Linked DNA regions of Homo sapiens: region 2 is linked to region 1. Evidence: promoter capture Hi-C in 16 types of primary human blood cells and fetal thymus (Javierre and others, 2016). All regions are on one chromosome and are shown on one strand. Each heading gives the region's core, a stretch centred on a gene start or on the middle of the fragment in contact. The rest is flanking DNA. Distances are from core to core; before and after follow the strand shown.

Evidence for each region. Contacts are between HindIII fragments. The CHiCAGO score rates a contact against its expected background, and 5 or more counts as called.
Region 2: a contact is called between a fragment that was not itself captured here and the fragment with the promoter of TSPAN13 in region 1, in 1 of 17 cell types (naive B cells). The highest score is 5.5, in naive B cells.

The regions. Positions count from the first base shown.
Region 1 is chr7:16,750,715-16,756,030 of GRCh38, reverse strand. TSPAN13 (tetraspanin 13) reads right to left here and starts at 2,276. Exons shown (of 6, transcript NM_014399.4): 1 at 2,001-2,276. The coding sequence starts at 2,063. The HindIII fragment of the contact is 13,671 bases long and covers 832-5,316 here.
Region 2 is chr7:17,309,255-17,314,570 of GRCh38, reverse strand. It overlaps AHR (aryl hydrocarbon receptor), which reads right to left. Exons shown (of 11, transcript NM_001621.5): 2 at 4,448-4,635. Among named protein-coding and RNA genes, the nearest start is that of AHR, 13 kb to the right of the region's middle. The HindIII fragment of the contact is 534 bases long and covers 1,752-2,285 here.

The DNA.
Region 1 (5,316 bases), core at 1,027-3,526:
TTAAGAAATGTCCCTTTGTCTAAAAAGTCTATGATTTAAAAGGGCTAGCCATTTTTATTGTCCCGTGAATTTCCAATTCATTAAGTTTTACTGCATAGCTATTAAAATCAATAGAACACACACTTTGAAGGTCAATAATTTAGAATAGATATTAAATAGTCTTAATATGTCCCTTTAGAATCACCTTTCTTTCGCCTCACTTTCCTGATATACTCTAAATACAACTAAAAATGATGTCTAGAAAGCAAGGAACTTCATTTTAAAATAACTTGCCTTTTTAAAAAAGATTATACATTGATATAGACCCTTCAGTGAAGTAAGTATGCAAAGTAGACATTCCACTCTGTGTAAGCAGGCACTGTAAGACTAAGTGTCTGGCAAACAGATGACTAAATCATTGGCAGAAAAAAAACAGAACTCAGGTCACAAAATAAGGAATTTAAAGTTCCAAGCAGGCCACTCACACTGATTTAAAAAAAAAAAAAAAAACCCTAGAGAACTGGTCAGCATTTACTTAATAAACAGCCAGGGTGATAAGCATACCTCAGGGTGATACAGATGAATTTTGATCTGAAACTTGACATGTATCTCCAAGGAACTGTATCACCAGGTGTTCTAAAATTTTTTTCCCAAGTCTACTATTAATGACCATGTTGACCAGATTCTTACTAACTAGCCATAAAAGCGTACTCAATGCCTGTTTCTGTCTTGCCTTCAAAGCTTGCAGTCATGTTCACATACAAAGGAACAGTAAAGGTAAAATGACCCAACCTCCTTCTCCTGTTGGTGACCACAAGGCAGCCTCTCTATTCCAAGGAGGTAATCTAAGCTTGCACAGATGGCCTAGCTCTCTGCTAATGCAGGGGTGCTGGGTTTGTTTTCAGGGTGGGTGCTGCAAAGCGCCAGGTATATTTATAGAAGGGAGCAAGACTACTATGGAGGGATGATGACAGAAGAGGAAGTTTCTTCCGCCCGGTAGAGACAGCCTGTGGAAAGATCTGGATTCCACAGCCTAGGTTCCACTCCTGACTCGTCAACTACCAGCTATGTAAACTTACTAAAACCTTTTTGGTCTGTTACCTTATGTATAAAATGCAGATAATGCCCCATTCCCTCAGAAGGTTGTCAGAATGATGAACGAGCATTGTGTATGTAAAACCTGGGACGTGATAGGCATTCAATAAATGTCGATCTGTCCTGCCCATCCTCCTGTTCACCCAGAATTGCGCCTCAAAAAATCACAAAGAGAGCCTGCAGCGTTAAAACTAAGAGGCCCAAGCTGGTTGGCAGGGAAAGAAACGACTTGGGTGGGGGCTCGCTTATTTCCTGGAGGACTTGGTTTAAAATGGAGTTAGGATATTGATCATGGACAAGACACACAGAAAAAGCACCAAGTACTAGCAAAACTGACAACAACAAAAACAAAAAGACATCCCTTTACTGTGAGCACGAAACAAACTTCGGAAGCAGCGGACATCCTGTGAACCTACTCAGTGGCCTCAATTAAAATCCCGAGGGTACCAAGAGCTAACCCAGAGGCACACCAGCCATATGCCGCCTCGTCAGTTTCAGGCCACGCCATTCCGCAAAACTGTCCGCAAGCCCTGACGGCTCTCGCGCCTCCACGCCTGGCCCAGATGCGTCTGGATGTCAGGAGCGAGCGGCAGAAGGGTACGGGGTGGGAAAGCGGAGAGGTCCGGTTGAATGTTTGAAAAACAAGGCGGTGGGTGAGGGGGCGGGGTGGAGCAATGTGGCAGAGACGCGGCCAGCGAGCCTGAGAGACCGCGGCTTCACAATGAACGAAAGGAAGAGACTGCGACAAGCGCCGGCGCCCGGTCCCCGGCGGGGACGGATGGTGAGGCCGGGGGCGCGCAGACGTGGGAAGCCGGGAAGGGGGCGCGGGATGCAACGAGTGAGTCGCTGACCAGGCAGGGAAGCCAAAGAGCTCCCAAGCAGGTGCAAAGCCCCCAAGCGAGCAGGAACGGACTGGGGATACTCACGGTGTAAAGCAGGTTGAGGGCGCACAGGCAGTTCTTGGAACACGCGAAGCCCCCGCAAACCATCTTGGAACCTGTGGTTGCCGGCAGCTGCACGTAAATTCGACTCCGGCGGAGGTTCCCTGACAGCTGCTTTGTCCTTGCCTTTGGGGCCTGGCCCAGGCGGGGCAGCAACGCAGACGTGGGTGGGGGGCCGGGGCCTGGGGCTGCAGTGCGCGGCGCGCGCGCGGCGGCGGCTCGGACCCGCTTTGGAACCTGCGGCCGCCGCAGCTGAGCCGGAGCAGGAGCCCGAGCCCCGCCCAGCCCCTTCGTCTCGCCCCGCGCGCTGATTGGCCGCTGGCAGGGAACAAAGGTAGAAATATGCAAATAAATGCGCTCCGCCGACCGGGATCCGGGAGGGGCGGAGCGGTCCCGGGGCGAGGGGGAGAGGGCCAAGGCCGTGTGGGAGGGAGCCCCAGGCCAGAGCGGCGGCCTTGGTGTAGTTTCCCCAGGAGCAGGTGAGGAGGGAGGGCGGGGCTCGGAGGAGATCCACGCTGGCAAGGAGAAATATGACAGCACCTCTGGATTCTTGGCCCTGGCAGATGACGTGGCACCATTTTGAATGAGATTTCAAAACTAAGCACCTGGCCTTGTTTGAGGGAAGGAAGGCAGGAAGCAAGTAATGAATGAAAACATGTGAAAGATTTAAAAGAGAACGAAGTAGAGGCAAATGAAAGGGAGAAAATAAGTGAAACAATAAAAAATAAAATAAAATCCCTGCTTCTCTCAGAAAATAAGATATGTGCCCTATAATTGTGACCTGGACAGGTCAGACTTATCCTACAAAGATTTGCAAAATACTAATAAACTTTATGAATACATGCATGCAAAGGAAAATCAAGAGCGGGAGAAGGTGGGGATGGTTAATAGGTCCAAAAAAATAGAAAGAATGAATAAGACCTACTATTTGATAGCACAATAAAGTGACAATCGTTAATAAGAACTTAATTGTGTATTTTAAAATAACTTAAAGAATGTAATTGGATTGTTTGTAACTCAAAGGATAAATGTTTCAGAGGATGGATACCCTATTCTCCGTGATGTGCTTATTTCACATTGCATGCCTGTATCAAAACATCTCATGTACCCCGTAAATATATACATCTGCTACGTGTCAACAAAAGTTTTTTAAAAAATTTTAAAAAGAAAATCAAGAGAGATTATTTTTGTGTTCTGGTCGTGAATTTCAATAAACTTATTTTTTCACAAAAATAACTGAAAATCTTCAAATAACTCAGACTTCACCTCAATTAATTCATTATCAGTTTACTGCTTCTCTACTATAGAAATGCATCTTGTATCCTTAATTCCTCACCTATAAATTGAGATTTTAGAAGTATGTCAAGCACTTTTTGCATAGTGGCTGGCACAGGGGAAGGCCTCAATAAATGTCAGCTAGTATTCATAGATCTGACATTTTGTAAAGGCCTACTGTGTTCCAGGCACTAAGCGAAGGCAATAAAGGTTTATTTACTTCATAGTAGTTTCTACCAAAGAAAAAGGTTTTATAAAGAGATTTGCAAGTTTACAATACTATATCTAACCTAAAGGTTCATACGGAGTAAATTATGTAATTGCAAATGCTAAATTGTATTAAATTAAATTAAACATTGCAGCTGATTAAAATAATTCGTCTTCTTAGAATTCTCTGCTCCCTCTTCCAGCCTCTCCTTCCCTCCCCTGACCCCACCATACCAACAAGACCTCATTAATTTGTTAGGCTTTCTATTCCACATTAACCTTTTATATACAGCTAGAAATATTTCAAAAACTAACCTGGAAAATGATCCTCAAACACAAACAATGCTTTGATGATGCTCAACTTTCCTTTTTAATAGCCAGAGGTTTACAAAAGATGAGGCATTGGCAGGGAAATCTATTCATTCTCTTCCCATTCCTGGGTGTCACCAACATTAGTACCACTTCAACTATCACTCAACCAACTATTGCAACTCTCTCTTTGGCTTCTGCATAATATCTTCACTATCTCCCTATAGGCTGAATCACTTTGTTTTCCCAGAGAAGTACCACCTATCAGTCAGGGTCCCAGCAAAAAGGAGATGACTCGTTCAAATAGCATAACTGAGAAGAATTTCAAAAAGGGACTATTTTCAAAAGTGTGGACAAAGTTAAAGGAAACCGGCTGGGTGCGGTGGCTCACACCTGTAATCCCAGCACTTTGGGAGGCCGAGGGTAGTGGATCACCTGAGGTCAGGAGTTTGAGACCAGACTGACCAACATGGTGAAACCCCGTCTCTACTAAAACTACAAAAATTAGCCAGGCGTGGTAGCGGGCACCTGTAATCCCAGCTACTTGGGAGGCTGAGGCAGGAGAATCACTTGAACCCAGGAGGTGGAGGTTGCAGTGAGCCAAGATCGCGCCACTGCTCTCCAGCCTGGGTGACAGAGTGAAATTCTGTCTCAAAAAGAAAAGGAAACCAACAAAGCATGATGAGGCAGCTCAGAGATAGTAAGAGCAGGAAGTTCTAATTACCCCTAAGACTAAGGGGGTGATTTAAGGGAACAGTTACAGAAGCCAGGCAAGAGCTATAGTTGTAGGAGAGTTGTCTGATAGGAGATACGGCTTTTGATAGAGGAAACAAAACAATGTCTGAAAATAGGAAAACAAATGGACATGTTGCAATTTCTCCTGATTTGGATATAGAAATTTTCAAAAGACCATTTGTTCCCACCCTAATAAGAACAAGCAGTCTGGACAACATAGTGAGACCCCATCTCTACTAAAAATTGAAAATATTAGCTGGGTGTGGTGGTGCATACCTGTAATCCCAGCTATCCCAGCTACTCAGGAGCCTGAGGGGGAAGGATTGCTGGAGCCCAGGAGATCAAGGCTGCAGTCAGCTATGATGGCGCCACAGCACTCCAGCCTGGGTGCAGACCAAGACCCTGTCTCAAAGTAAGTAAAAACAAGCTAGATAAGCTACCAAATCATACTTACAACAAAAAACTATCGAAGAACTGAGGGGCTAAAGGCACTAGAGGAACTAAAATCCAAGAAGTGATGAGACATTATTAGAGGGGGAAAAAAACTCATAGTCACTTTCATCTCTTATAGACTGGCTGTGGAAGGGAGAAACTACCTTTGAGAGGGATAAGGAGAAACTAAATGACTATTTAACCATCTTCTACTGCCCCTACCTGGACTATGTGACAGTTTATAATCCAGAGCCCCAGCTACAGAATGACTGCAACTATTTGCCAGCTCTAACCCATGGGCTTTCTTTTAAAACAAGACATATAAGCTACAAAGGCCGTGGTC
Region 2 (5,316 bases), core at 769-3,268, 560 kb before region 1:
ATAAACACAATAGCTCTCTTTGGAAAACCTAATGAACTGGGAATGAACTGTTAAAGCATCTGCAAAAGGAAGACCAAGAACAGAGCACTTGTAATTTTTAATTTAAAATAAAGTCAAGAAAGATCCATGATAAACAATGGGGTCAAATAAATGTTAGATCATCACATAATATAACTATTATCCTCTCTTCCCACAGCATTTTTAGGCTTAATGAATGAAAATATTTTAACATGTAAATAATTCTACATTTTATAAAATGGTGATTATTTTAAGCATGTATAATGATTCAAGACTTAGATTTTCCCTAACATTACCTTGTTTTAAAAATAACTAGAATACTACTATTCCCTATGACAGCTGCAAATGCAAGACTTTGAAATCAGAAACTCGGATCCCTAAGCTCCATTTTGTCAGGCTCATTAGGTGTTTGTATGTAAACAGAAAACAAAAGTAGTCATTCCCGAATTCTCAATTTTGGGGCAGCTGTATAAAAACAGAATAATTTGAACAAAATATTTACATAATAATGGGCATTTCAAAAAATAGTAAGGAAATCTCATTAAAAATTGTATTAAAGATATGCTGAAATTAGGAATGAAACATTACAATGCTGATTAGATTGATCAACAAGCCCAGTGTACACTGTTTAACAATTTTGAGAGACATGATATAGGAGGAAACAATCCTTTCTCTTCACATCAACCAGTTTCAAAGATTAGATTGTAACCACCCAAATCCTAGTCTCTATTAATAAACTATTATTGATTGTAACCATTGTTATTTAAATTTTTAAAATACCCTCCATCTCAGAGATAATATATTTAAATGTAATGCTTAAATCATGTCAAAGAAACTATTTTCGACTTTATAACTGAAAAATTGCTAAGCCTTGTTCAAGTATTTTAAAGTTATATTTCAATATGTTTTAATTAATTAGAAATGGATAAATATTAATGTAGTACTTAAAACTTTATAGTGTTGCTTTTCAGACAGCAGCAGCAGTATAGTCATGGTTCCAAACTTTAAGAAGATCCATCCAAGTTGGATTATTTAAACTTGCAATAAATAGATGTATTTTCTTGGAAAAATATCTATTGTTACAGTAAAACTTGAGTTTCCTTTCTAACAAGATTGTATGATTACTCGTTTATATTGTTCTTTCCGCAGGAATTTACACACCCCCTGTTTGCATCCTGTTATTCACTTTGAGCTTCCCTTCGCTTCGCTATACTGTTTCCCTAATAGTGGAAGAGTGGGTCCAACTGCACACAAAAATCCTAATCATTGTTAGCATGTTTCAAATCTCTTCGTTTGCATCTACCATTTTTTCAGTTCATAAGGGTCACCCTTATAATTTCATTCTCTGTGTGCTCTGAAATGTTGCATTGCCTTTCCAGACCACTGGTAGTCTGGAGGAAATTTGGGGATTAAAAAAAAAACCTTATTATTTTCATTTTCCATCTAACTGTATGTTTCTGTATCAAACAATCTAAGAAACTGCTTAGGCTGAATGTACACCACTATAACACAAGCAAAAATATTCATAGACTTCTTTAAATTTTGTATGTTTGCATTTGTCATTCTGAAGGCAAAGAAACAAAAATTAACTTGTTCAGGGCATAATCAAGGCTAGGCTAAATCACTGCCTCAGACTCCGTAACATGCTTGTTAAAATACTGATTCTTGGGTTTTACACAGAACTTCCTTGTTATCAGCAGGGGCATGCCTCCAAATTTGCATTTTAAAAAGCTTTCTAGGTAATTCTTATGCACAATGCAGTTTGAAAAGAATCTAACGTTAAAGATAATGATAATGTAGTTGATGAAGGAATCATGCAAATAGGTAATAAGATCCTACTGTCAAATACACTGAACCAGAATAAAAAACAGACAAACTCATTAATGAAGAGCTGAGAAAAAAGTTTTTAACAATTCCGTGATGAACCCTGTGTTAAACTATGACATGCTTTATAAGATAGACTGTGAGATCTCCTTTACTTGAAGCACTGAATAATAGGACACTTATCTAATCATGTATGTGTCTGTGTGTATACATACATGAACACACATACACACATAATGTAGACATTAAATATAGAAATATATCTGTTTATATATGTGTGTTTCACACACATTTATATGTATCTGTCTAGATACACACATATGTACTACTTCTAAACAGAGGAAAAACCTATACTTTTTTTTTCTTTTTAACATATATAATTTGATTCCCCATTACAAAGGAACAAGAAATGGAAAGGTAAAATGACTCAAGTCAATAAAGCTTTATCAGAGTCAGAGAATAATGCCTCCTTGGCTTCTAGACTCCAGAATCTCTAAGGGTGGCAACCACGTCTTACACATCACAGAATCTGCCACCACATGGTCAAGCACTAAGCACAGCATGTGAGTAAATGCTAGGGATCAGGACAGCATTCCGTGACGCTGGGAGGAGGCCTGAAGTTACAATCTACAGCAGTGGCTCCTAAACTTCAATATGCATCTAGCCCTATCACCAAAGGTCCCACCACCTTAGATTCCACAGGTCTAGGGTTGGACCCAATAATTTGCATTTCTAGCAAGTTCCCAGGTGATGCTGATGCTGCCTGTCTGGATACTACACTTTTAAGAACCACAGGTCTAGGAAAAAATCCTCAGTGCTTTCCTATGCGAAGGTTCCCAGAAAAAAGTAGGTATTATTTGGTCAGGAAAAACAATATAAGGAATCTAGAAACCTGAGTTCTAGTTCCAACTATGTCAGCTAAATGACTATAGCTAATACACACATACTTACAGACCATCACTGAATACTGCGTAACTCTTCTCCCAAGATGAAGGGTTTGGTATAGAGGCAACTGAAAATTCAAACACTTTTTATATAGGTCAGAGAAAATTTGTGTACTATGAAACTTTGAAATATATAATCTTTCCTGAAATCACTATCCTCAAATCTGTATATTGCCCAGACCACAACTGTTAAACTAAATAGCTTTTGTCCAAAAGAAAGACGGGAGAGCAAGCAAGCAAATCAATAAAAAGATGCTCAGACGAAACACATCAGATTATGTAAACATAAATCTAAAGGGAAATTAACTGTTGCAATATTCTAAACACAAATTACCAGTCAAATATCCATAAACGTGTTGTCTAGGCACTTCCTAGTGACCTAGACCAGCAGGATCAGCATCATCTCGGAGCTTGTTAGACATGCAAAATCTAGGGACACACCTAAAGCTACTGAACAAGAATCTGCATCTTAACAAGATCCCTATGTGATTTGTAAGCACATTAATGTATGAGAAGCATTGACTGACATAGCCCACTGAGATTTTATCATTAACTTGCTATGGTTAGTAAAATTATATGATATTTTAAAAAGACCATTTCCTTAAAAAATCTATTTCTGCCTTATAGACAGATAAAAGATAAATCAAAAATTAATTTTACATGAGAAAATACACTGAAACATCATTTGCAAACAAAAACTTCCATTGCAATTTAAAGGTAACAAATATCATCCAGCTGCCTAGCTCAAAACCCCAACCTTTACTGCTGAGAAAACTGAGATACGGGGATGCTACCTGGTTTGGTTAATGACAAACAGTTTTCAGTGACACAATAGAGAATGAAATCAAATTCTATTGACTCTTACAATCAAATGTTCTTTCTAGTGAAAAACATGTTTTAATTATATTTCTTGCAGTCGGTATACAATTAATGTAAAATATTAGAAATAGGCCAGGCGCAGTGGCTCATGCCTGTAATCCCAGCACTTTGGGAGGCTGAGACGGGCAGATCACCTGAGGTCAGGAGTTTGAGAGCAGCCTGGCCAATATAGTGAAACCCCATCTCTAATAAAAATACAAAAAATTAGCTGGGCGTGGTGGTGGGCGCCTATAATCCCAGCTACTTGGGAGGCTGAAGCAGGAGAATCGCTTGAACCCGGGAGTCAGAGGTTGCAGTGAGCCAAGATCGTGTCATTGCACTCGAGCCTGGGCAACAAGAGCAAAAGTCTGCCTCAAAAAAAAAAAAAAAGATTAGAAATATACGTAAGTTTGGAGGGATAAATAAAATGACATGTCTATGAAAACACAGAAAATCCAGCAAGATGGTGTTTTATCTTTTCTTTTTTTTTAAAAAAGACTTTTAAATATTGAAGTAGAAGGGAAACTGGAATTTGACATAATCAATTTGAGTGTAACTTCTAAATATATGATTTTCAAAGAATGATACCATGCATCATTTCAGTGGCTGCATCTGTTGGGTGAATAAAACTGGAAAATTGATTTTAAGACTTATAAATCTGGCTTTGCCACTGAAATTTTACTATACAGCAATAAATTTTCCAAATACGGCTAATTTTTGTAGTTATTAACACAGAAACAGCTATATCTAGTACAAGTATTTTTTATACGTTATTGTAGACAAATTAAACCCTTCTGTCTTACCATCAAAGAAGCTCTTGGCTCTCAGGTAACTGACGCTGAGCCTAAGAACTGAAAGTTTGTCCAACTTATTAATAACATCTTGTGGGAAAGGCAGCAGGCTAGCCAAACGGTCCAACTCTGTATTAAGTCGGTCTCTATGCCGCTTGGAAGGATTTGACTTGATTCCTTCAGCTGGGATTGGCTTTACTCTGAAAAACAAACAAAATACCATAAAAAATCCTTTAAAAAATATAAAGCAAAAATTTCTATTGCATTATAACATCTCCTCAAATATTTCTCTAACACAACAAACTTTTAAAGTCTACTTAAAGTTTACGTAAGTCTTTCTAAAATCTTCCTTTCACATCTTAAGAAAAACAGGGAATGGGTTAAATTCTTCCGAATATTTCATTAAAAAGCTTATGAACTCATCATAGGAAAATGTTTGCTTATACTTCAAGCATTTGTAGCACAGTGATTCCCAATTAACAGATCTACTGGGATTTTTTTCCCCTCTCAAATGCATTAGCCATTGTTTGGTGGAAAATTAAAAAGAGAAATTTGTGATAAATTATATGAAAATCATACTTCCTTTGCTATCTTCCACAGGAAGCATCTCAGCATCATTGACGTTGTCAATAAACAAGGACAACCCTAAATAAAGTATTTATCTTCATATCACCAGCTTTCTGTATTTATTTACTTTCAACTCATTAGAGATAATGTCCCAAAGCCCCTCTGACACCTGCAGATGGTCCTCCAGCCATCTAATGTGGTCCTCAAATATTAAAAGAAGAATAAATTTGACTTTTGCTATTTACATTTCTTGTTGGCAAATATTAGAGGTTAATGGTGATTACCAGCAACTTTTGCTTTTACATGTAGACAAT